Regions from separate parts of the Homo sapiens genome. Here all the other regions are linked to region 1. The links are contacts of gene promoters, found by promoter capture Hi-C in blood cells and fetal thymus (Javierre and others, 2016). All regions are on one chromosome and are shown on one strand. The core of a region is centred on a gene start or on the middle of the fragment in contact, and the rest is flanking DNA. Distances in the headings are between cores, read along the strand shown. Region 1 holds the start of CHRM4 (cholinergic receptor muscarinic 4). Region 2 overlaps ATG13 (autophagy related 13). Region 3 holds the start of MAPK8IP1 (mitogen-activated protein kinase 8 interacting protein 1).

Evidence for each region. Contacts are between HindIII fragments. The CHiCAGO score rates a contact against its expected background, and 5 or more counts as called.
Region 2: a fragment that was not itself captured here is called in contact with the fragment with the promoter of CHRM4 in region 1 in 1 of 17 cell types (endothelial precursors); the score reaches 7.4 in endothelial precursors.
Region 3: a contact is called between the fragment with the promoter of MAPK8IP1 here and the fragment with the promoter of CHRM4 in region 1, in 11 of 17 cell types (non-activated CD4 T cells, total CD8 T cells, naive CD4 T cells and 8 more). The highest score is 12.3, in non-activated CD4 T cells.

Annotation. Positions count from the first base shown.
Region 1 is chr11:46,390,504-46,393,543 of GRCh38, reverse strand. CHRM4 (cholinergic receptor muscarinic 4) reads left to right here and starts at 1,768. Exons shown (of 2, transcript NM_000741.5): 1 at 1,768-2,013. RefSeq lists enhancers at 1-754, 2,272-2,875, 2,876-3,040 and silencers at 1,408-1,457, 1,638-1,727. The HindIII fragment of the contact is 9,198 bases long and covers 652-3,040 here.
Region 2 is chr11:46,653,375-46,656,607 of GRCh38, reverse strand. It overlaps ATG13 (autophagy related 13), which reads right to left. Exons shown (of 19, transcript NM_001346311.2): 8 at 335-375. Among named protein-coding and RNA genes, the nearest start is that of ATG13, 37 kb to the right of the region's middle. The HindIII fragment of the contact is 2,737 bases long and covers 2-2,738 here.
Region 3 is chr11:45,884,046-45,887,008 of GRCh38, reverse strand. MAPK8IP1 (mitogen-activated protein kinase 8 interacting protein 1) reads right to left here and starts at 1,358. Exons shown (of 12, transcript NM_005456.4): 1 at 1,088-1,358. The coding sequence starts at 1,188. RefSeq lists a silencer at 1,097-1,496. The HindIII fragment of the contact is 6,698 bases long and covers 1-2,963 here.

The sequences.
Region 1 (3,040 bases), core at 519-3,018:
GGATTGTGGAGAAATTAAAGTGACTTTGCCTGCCAGCTTCTGGAAGAGCTGGGGTCAGTAGCTGGAGGCGTGTCTTGTGTATGCAGCCTCCCGCCCTTGGCCTTGCTTGTTTTCTCATCTGACTGTTTTAAGGATCTATCTGCCTTCCTCCTCCACAACCCCCACCTCCTCTTAGGAGTATCACACTCTTCTGTGCCCTGGGAAGGATATGGCAAAGTGGAAGAAGTGCAGGAGTGCCGTCTTAGGGTCTTATGAACCAACTTTCCTTATTTGTGAAGTGGGGCAAGAAGAGTAGTGCTTCTTTCACCCCCAGTTATGAGGTCTTGGGAGACCCGATCATTCATGTAACAACAGAAGATGGCTTCCTACTCTAGCCAACCAACCCCAGCCCTGAAGTTCCCAATTCCGACCAACCCCAGCCGTCGCGCTCGCGAGCTCTGGGGACCCGAACTCCACTTCCGGGTTCCGCGCGGAGAACCCCACACCAAGAGCCCCGCAGCGCTGGCTTCTACTCGAGTTCCCTCCCATTCTCTGCCAAGAGGCTCCTGCCTCTCCTCCACCGCCGCCCCCGCAATCGCCCTCACCACCTCCGGCCCTCGGGGGAGGGTCTTGAGTTGTTTCCCCGAGAGAAGAAATCAGACGTCTTAAGCTTAATCAAATGTTTGCGATCAGAATTTGGGGTTACAGGCCTCGGTCCTGGGCGCAGTGGGGAGCGTCCGACCCCGGCGGTCCCCCGGAAGGGCGCTCTCGGAGGGAGACAAGCGCTGGAGCGGAATCAGGCAGGCGAGGCTGCTGGGCCAGGGCGCGGGGAGCTCTCCGAGGTGCTGAAGCCGCCCCAAGGTCCGCCCAGCCTGGGCGAGGCCCGGAGTCCTGAGGCTACGGCCCGTGCGGTTCCCAGCGACCTCTGAGATTGGCTGCCCGCTCTCCGGGATCTTGTCCCGGGCTCCGGCCCCGGCGACCTTGGGCAACCGACTGTCCCTCACAGGCGGCGGTGAACTGGCGGTCCAGGCTGCGCCTGGACTGGCGGCGCGTCCCATCCCAGGGCTGGGAGAGCAGGGGCGCGCCCCTTCCCCGGCCCGGAACGCTGAGCAGGCAGCCGAGCGGGTGCGGGCGAGTGGTCCGCGGTGGGCTCTTCTCTCCCCGGCCGAACCTCTCCAGTCCACCCGCTCCTGCGCTTCCCCAGGCCCCGACGGCGCCCCTCCTCGCGGGCGGCCCGGCCGGCACGCAGCGGCGCGGCTGGAGCTCCCGGCCCTCGACCCCGACGGATCCCTGGCGGCGCAGCCCGCCCCACCCACCCGCAGCCTCCCGCTGGGGTCAGACTCCCGCGCCTCGCGGCCAAACCGCCAGCGGGGCCACGCAGGGCGCTGAGGTCCCGGAGAGGCGCGAAAATAGCTCAGGGTCCCGGGAGTATGGTCAGGGCGGAGGCGGGAGCGCGGCCGGACCCAGCTGCCAGCTCCTTCCCCAGCCCGCGAGGGGGCGCCGCGTCCCCATGACAACGCGGACACCCCCACCCCCCGGAGGGCAGCGCCCCCTGCTCCCCTGCGTCGCTGGCCGTGGGCGGCGCCCTCTGTGCCCAAGCAGGGAGCTGCCGGCCAGCCCCCGAGAGGGGCGCGGACCGCCGGGGTCTCCGACGCCTCGGGTGTTGACCCCCGCGCGTCGCCGCCGGGTGACCGGCCCGGGGCGGGCGGCGCGGCCCCGCCACGATTGGCTGCTTCCTCGTGACATCACGCGGCTCGGGGAAAAGTGCGAGCGTGAGCGCGAGTCGGAGCCACAGCGCCGGGAGCTGCGGGCGGAGCAGGGGCCGCCCCTCGACACCCCGTCCCCGCCCCCGGCCCTCGGCCCGGCCGCCCGCCCCGCCGGCCCGCGGGGCCGCGCGTCCGTCCCGCCGTCTGTCTGGCGCGAGGGGAGCTGGGCAGAGGCGGCGGGTAAGTGGCTCCGCGGCGGCGCGGGGGCGGGGGGCTCGCCGGGAAGAGCAGGAAGCAGGTCCCCGGGACGCTCTGAGGCTCCCCAGAGGTGGGTTCGACTGGGACAGGGCGCCAGACCCCCTCCGGGGCGAGCGCGGGCCGGGAGCGGCAGTGGGCCGGGGCTGGGGGACCCCGCTGGAAGCAAGGCCGGGGGCTCTCGGAGGCTTCTCCAGGTGCGCCCGGGTGCGCCCGTGGGAAGGGGTGGGCATCCAGGATGTCGGGGGCGGGGGATTGCCCGCCCACAGACCCCACGGAGCCAGGGGCAGCCGTCGGGGGTGGGACCCTGTACTCCAGCCCTCCCACTGGCGGCTCAGCAGGGCGCCGGGCGCTGAAGCCCCAAAGAGCCCTTTTCCCGCCGTCTCCCCGCCCTCCCTCTCCCTCCACCCCTTTGCCCCCGCGCTGCCAGCCCACTCCGGCCCCTGGAGTCCTCCATCTACGACCTTGAGCCCCGACGGAAAACACCCCTGCCCTCCCCGACACCCCTCCCCCGCTCCGGTACTACCCCCCTTTGCTGCCCAGCCTCCAAGCCGGGGTCCTCCAGCTCCAGGCCCCCTCCTCCGGCCCCGCAACGGAAGTGTTGGGCACAATGTCGGTGCCAAATCTTCGCCTCTCCCTCCCTTGGACTCTGGAGTCTCCTCTCCCGCCCCAGGGACAGATCCAGGGGCCACAGCCTTCCCAGAGCCATGGAGTGAATGCCCAAGAACCGAAGACCTACACCCCAAACCACCCCACGGGCGTGCGGAGCACCCCCTCCGGTCTCGCCCGGGGAAGAGGGGTGTCGAGGACTCGGGAAACACAGTGCCCACGCCCAGAGGCTGCAGGAACTGCGTGCTAGGGGCTTGGAGGGAGGGCGGGGCACCCGAGAGCCAGGGCTCCTTCGACCACGGCGGAGACATGGAGGAGCCTCCAGATGGCCTAGGAAAACACGGCCCTCGAGGCCCGCCCGACCCTAGCGTGAGAAACTGGGTCCCCACTTTGGTCACAGGGGCTAGACAGTGCCTCTGGGGTAGGGTGCAGGGTGAGGAGAGAAGGAGGACAAGAGTCTTGCACTCGCCTGACCCGAGCTCTGTCCGGGC
Region 2 (3,233 bases), core at 121-2,620, 260 kb before region 1:
TTTCCTGATTTTCTTGGTTTCATTTCCAATTTTTCAAAATTCTTGTTGTTCATCAGAAACATTTAACATCCTCACTGTAGAAAATTAGGAAAATATACAGTTTTATAAAGAGTAAGAAAGAAGACTGAGTTCCTGGAACTTTGGGAAAAATTATTTGGTTACCCTGGCAGATCAGGGGTAACCTGGACCACCTACCTGCATTCTCATCTTTTCTTTACTTGTATTATGCATATTAAGATGACAATCTACATATTATAACAAGTAGAAACGAAGATCATCTCTGAAGTTAGGAGAGCTCTGAACACTACGATGTTTTTCAACCGTTGATACATACCTTCTCCTAAGCCACTCAGCTGAACTTCTCCAAAATATATCCTGTATGGAAGAAAAAATAAGAAATGTTACCTGATTCTTTACTCCTAAGGGCCTCTATAGCCAAAACACGTAGAAACAAAATAAAACAAAGCCTTCCTTACTCATCTGCTCAAATACCTCTGCTGATGGAGCATTAGTAATTCCTACTACTTCAATTAAGCTACAGGCATGGAGACGTACAGAGTGGGTTGGTTAAAAAATAAGGAAAATAAGGCCAGGCACAGTGGCTCATGCCTGTGATCCCAGCACTTCGGGAGGATCACTTGAGGCCAGGAGTTCAAGACCAGTCTGGGCAACACAGCAAGACCCTGCATTGACAAAAAATAATTTTGCCGGGTGTGATGGTGCATGCCTGGAGTACCAGATAACTGGGAGGCTGAGGTGGGAGGATCACTTAAGCCCAGGAAGTTGACGCTGCAGTGAGCCAAGATTGCACCATTGCATTCCAGCCTGGGCAAAAGGATGAGACGCTGTCTCAAAAAAAGAAATGAGGAAAATAATAATTAAGTGGAAACTGCTATTTAAGTTTCTTCTCTCTGCTACTAAAATGTATTTTAAAATTATACCTACTGAGAAATAAAGAATATATAAATAAAAGTGGCCAACAGGTCTAGGATTGCTACTAGAAGGCACTGGTTTTGTTTTGTTTTGTTTTGTTTGAGACGGAGTCTTGCTCTGTCACCCAGGCTGCAGTGCAGTGGCATGATCTCGGCTCACTGCAACCTCCAGCCTCCTGGGTTCAAGCGATTCTCCTACCTCAGCCTCCCAAGTAGCTGGGATTACAGACGCATGCCACCACGCCCGGCTGTTTTTTTGTTTGTTTGTTTTGCTTTTTGAGACTGAGTCTCACTCTGTCGCCCTGGCTGGAGTGCAGTGGTGCAATCTCGGCTCACTGCAAGCTCCGCCTCCCAGGTTCATGCCATTCTCCTGCCTCAGCCTCCCGAGCAGCTGGACTACAGGTGTCCGCCACCGCGCCCGGCTAATTTTTTGTATTTTTAGTAGAGACGGGTTTTCGCCGTGTTAGCCAGGATGGTTTCGATCTCCTGATCTCGTGATCCGCCCGTCTCAGCCTCCCAAAGTGCTGGGATTACAGGCGTGAGCCACTGCGCCCGGACCTGTTTTTTGGTTTTTTTTGAGACAGTGTCTCGCTCTGTCGCTCAGGCTGGAGTGCAATGGCACCATCTTGGCTCACTGCAACCTCCACCTCCTGGACTCAAGCGATTCTTGTGCCTCAGCCTCCCAAATGGCTGGCACTACAGGTATGCGCTACCATGCCTGGCTAATTTTTGTATTTTTGGTAGAGACAGGGTTTCGCCACATTGCCCAGGCTGGTCTTGAACTCCTGAGCTCAAGTGATACACCCGCCGTAGCCTCCCAAAGTGCTGGGATTACAGGTGCAAGCCACCATGCCTGGCCTGTTTTTCGGGTTTTTTAAAAATAATTTTTGGTAGAGACAGGGTCTAACTATTGCCCAGGCTGGTTGCAAACTCCTGGCCTCAACTGTTTTTTTTGAGACAGGGTCTCAGTGTGTTGCCCATGCTGGAGTGCAGTGGTATGACCACTGCCCACTGCAGCCTCAACCTCCTGGGCTCAAGAGATCCTCTCACCTCAGTCTCCTAAGCAGCTGGGACTACAGGCACGTGCCACCACACCCAGCTAAGTTTTTTTATTTCTAGTATAGACAGGGTCTCGGTGTGTTGCCCAGGCTGGTATCGAACTCCTGAACTCAAGCGATCCTCCCACCTCATTCTCCCAAAGTGCTGGGATTACAGGTGTGAGCCACTGCCCCTGGTCCTGGCCTCAAATTATTCTCCCACTTCAGTCTCCCAAAGTGCTGGGATCACAGGCATGAGCCACCATACCTGACCAGAATGTACTAGAGTTTGATAAGTGGTCTTTAGTTGTGGGAAGCTCTCTTTTACATATATATATATATATATATATATATAAAATTTTAAAAATAGTAGTGATGAGGTCTTGCCATGTGACCCAGGCTGGTCTGAAACTCCGGGGCTCAAGCAATCCTCCCACCTCAGCCTCCCAAAGTGCTGGGATTACAGGTGTGAGCCAACTGTGCCTGGCCATGAAGAAATCTCTAAGTAGATGGCTTAACAAAGCAGGAAATCTTTTCCACCGTGGAATAATGAACTAGGTAAGACTATTCTGAAAAAAAAAAATAAAAACATAAACACAGTGGAACCTTCCTATGATTCTCCCTGGACAGGCCAGTCTATATTAGCAAAAAGTTTGAATTCAAAATACCTAAAATCTATTTTCATATTTTTCAAGTAATATTGTTAAAATTAAATATACACATGGGTTTATTCAATAAATACTAAGCTCCAACAATGTATGAAGAAGCTTCGCCAGGCGCGGTGGCTCACGCCTGTAATCCCAGCACTTTGGGAGTCTGAGGCGGGTGGATCATGAGGTCAGGAGATCGAGACCATCCTGGCTAACATGGTGAAACCCCGTCTCTACTAAAAATACAAAAAATTAGCCGGGCGTGGTGGCGGGTGCCTGTAGTCCCAGCTACTCGGGAGGCTGAGGCAGGAGAATGGCGTGAACCTGGGAGGCGGAGCTTGCAGTGAGCCGAGATTGTGCCATTGTACTCCAGCCTGGGCAACACAGCGAGACTCCGTCTCAAAAAACAAAAAAAAAAAAAAGAAGCTTCATGGTTAGATGTTAGGAATGAAATAAGGATAAATCTGAATCCTAGGTCTTACAGACTACAGTTTTGTATGAAAGAAAAGAAATGTAGCTGGACATGGTGGCTCACGCCTGTAATCCCAGCACTCTGGGAGGCCGAGGTGGGCGGATCAATTGAGGTCAGGAGTTCAAGACCAGCCTGGCCAGCA
Region 3 (2,963 bases), core at 109-2,608, 510 kb after region 1:
CAGCTCAGGGCCTCAGGGAAGGTTTCTGAGTTTGATGATGCTATTAGAGATCCCCAGGGGTCTCTGCCCACCTGAGGACCTGGGAGCCAGTGACCCCTTGCTCCCAGGAGGGGCTGGCACCACAGCCCAGCTGGAGCCTGGCTGGGGTGGTGCCCCAGGAGAGGGGAAGGCGCCAGTTCTCGAGATGGGGAAACAATGGGGTATGTCTAAGCCTCCCTCTCTAGGCCGGGAGCAGTGACTTCGGCCTCTTCCTCCCCACCAACTAGGGTTCAGAATTATGGGGGAGGTACATCTATTCCTCCTCCACACAACACTCACCCCTCACTTCTCTGAAATGCATCGGGCCTAACACCAGATTGGGGGGTGGGGGTGGTGGAATAGGAGCTCAGGTCAGGGTTCTGGGTATTTACCCCAGCAGGGATCCCCTCGACACCCTCGCTGGCCCTGGCTACTCCAGAGCCGAGCCGACTTCCCTTCCCGCAGCCGGGCCTAGGATTCCCCTGGTTGAGGCTGAGCCTTCAGCGCCTGCCCTGAGAGACACACCTGCCTAGGTCGGTGCTGCCCAATCCAGAGAGGGGCCCGGCCACGCCAGGCCTGGCAGGTAGGCCCATCTGGCCAGGCAGGGCTCGGGGAGGGGCTCAAACATCCTCCTCCCAGCACCAACAATGTCGTTGCCCCAGGAAACTGCGACCCGCGCCCCTCCAGGCTGTTCCCAGCTCTATTCACAGGCTAAGATGCAGCCTGCCTGCCCGCTCCGGGATCGCAACCCCGACCCCAGACCCTGCCGCAGCCCGGAGGTTGGGGAGAAGGAGGCCTCCGAGCCCCCTCCTCCAATTCCAGCGCAGACCTCCCAGCCTAGGACCAGGAATGGCGGAGGGAACAGCCTCGTGAACATGCAACGGCTACCAGTCCGGACTTGAGGCTGGCGGGGCTTCTGAGGGGGGCTCTGTCCCGGGAAGAGACCCCACTCCCACGCAGCCCTTTCGTTCCCGGGTTCCCGAGGTTCTGGGGTGGGGGGCGGGCAGGGCAGCCAATGCGGATCAGTCCCCGCTGAAGGGCGAGGCGCGCGGCGGCCGGGGACTCTCACCTGAAATTGGGAGGCGAAGCGATGTGCAGCCCCAGGAACGGGGAGGCGGCGGGCGGGGACGCGGCCCCCCCTCCCAGGCCGCCGCTTTCTCGCTCCGCCATTCTCGGGCACAGCCCTGGCCATCCGGGCGGAGCGCGGCGCGGAGGAGGCGGCGGCTGCGAAGGAGGCGGAGGCGCGGCGAGAGGGCAGCCGCCGCCGCGGAGTTCGGGCTAGGCGGGCGCACCTGTGTCTGGCAGGGCGCGGCACAGCACCGCGCACGGCCCGCGGGACTGGCGAGAGCGCCCCGCGCGCGCCCCCGGGACCCGGCCGGGGTCTCGCGCGCCCCGCCCAGGCCCCGCCCCCACCCCGCCAGCCCCGCCCCCGGAGATGGCGCTCTCCGCGGTGCTGAAGCCACGGCCCCCGCGGCCCTGGGCTTGGTTCAGCCCCGCCCTAAATCCGACATCGACTCTCCTCCACCCCGTGGCCGGTGTGGGCTTTGTCCCTCCGGTTGGGCTTAGTGCCCGGGTATCAGATGACTAATGGCAGGACACTGGACCCCAAGGTCCAGGTTGGCCCCCCGCAGCAGAGACCAAGAAGGCAGGCGGAAAAGGAGGGTCGTGGAGGAAGGCAGAGAAAGGAGAGGATGTCAGTGGGCTCTTAAAGTGTACAGGTTTGGAGTCAGGTGGTGTGAATTCACTGGCTCCACAAGTGACTGGGCAGTGGGGCCTTGCATTAGTGACTTCAGAGCACTAAGGTTTGGTCTTCTTATCTGTGAAATGGGACAATAGCAGTCCCTCTCATGGTTGTTGTGAGAATGTAACGTAACACAAATGTGTTGCCTGAGACCCAGAAACACTCCACCTCCTGCGCTGGGATCCAGCCCTCACCCCAGTCCTGTCCCTTTACCTTGAGGGGACCCTCCCAAAGACTCTCCCTAGAGGCTGTCTTCTCTAAAGATTGACCCAAATCTCTCTTCAGCCCCAAACAGCTACTCGTGGTGAATTGAGCCCTCCAGGCTTCTCGGTCTCTCGCCAGGACCTTCCCAGCATTCTCCTTCTTAGCGCCTCAACTGCATTTCCTGCAGAGCACCCCTCTTCTGCACCCACAGACACACATTCTAAGACTTGGCGCCTTTCCCTCTCCTCCCACTGTTGACTTCTTGGGATCATTTTGGTTGTTTCTGTTCCCTCTGGCACCTCCATCCCTGCTAGGCTTTGGCCATGGCTTCTTCCTCATTGTCTCTCCCTCGAGAGGGTGTTATTCCTGGGCTTCCAGGCCTTCAAGTCCCTGAGTTTCCCGATTGAGTTATTTCAGAGTACGGACTGCCAAGGCTAGGGCCTTAGCTTTGCTGGGTCGTAGAGCCTCTGGTCAAACCTCATTGGCTTCTCTGGTCTCTCGAGAGAACCCTAGAGACCCTGTCCACAGGGCAGAAAACGTGCAGAGCAAACTGTGCCACAACTCGTGGAGTCCTATTTGCAAATCTGGACTGCCGACCAGTCATGCTGGCCCCTTTCCTTCAGTGCGGCACCTAGCAAGGAGCTGGAGGCACCTTCCGTGCAGAAGGCAACCTCCGACCACCAGCCCTGAGAATATCCCAATACCTAGAGCCAAAGGTCATGGCTGCTTCTCTTTTCCCTGTCCCTGGGGCCCAGAGGGGTGGCCACTACTTTCTCAGCTTTCGTGATCAGGCCCCTTTCACTGGGCCCTCACGGTAATCATCTGCTGCCATGGTGCCTGGCTTTTCCTCTCAGGAAAGCAGTCTTGCCATCATGGCTACTAATCGTTCCTTAGAATGTAGACCTGCCTCAGCTAGGGAACATCCTTAGCAGGTCAGGGGTGGATGTAAAGGACAACTCCCTCTTCCAGAACCTTTTGCTCAAGAGCAAAGTTATCTTAG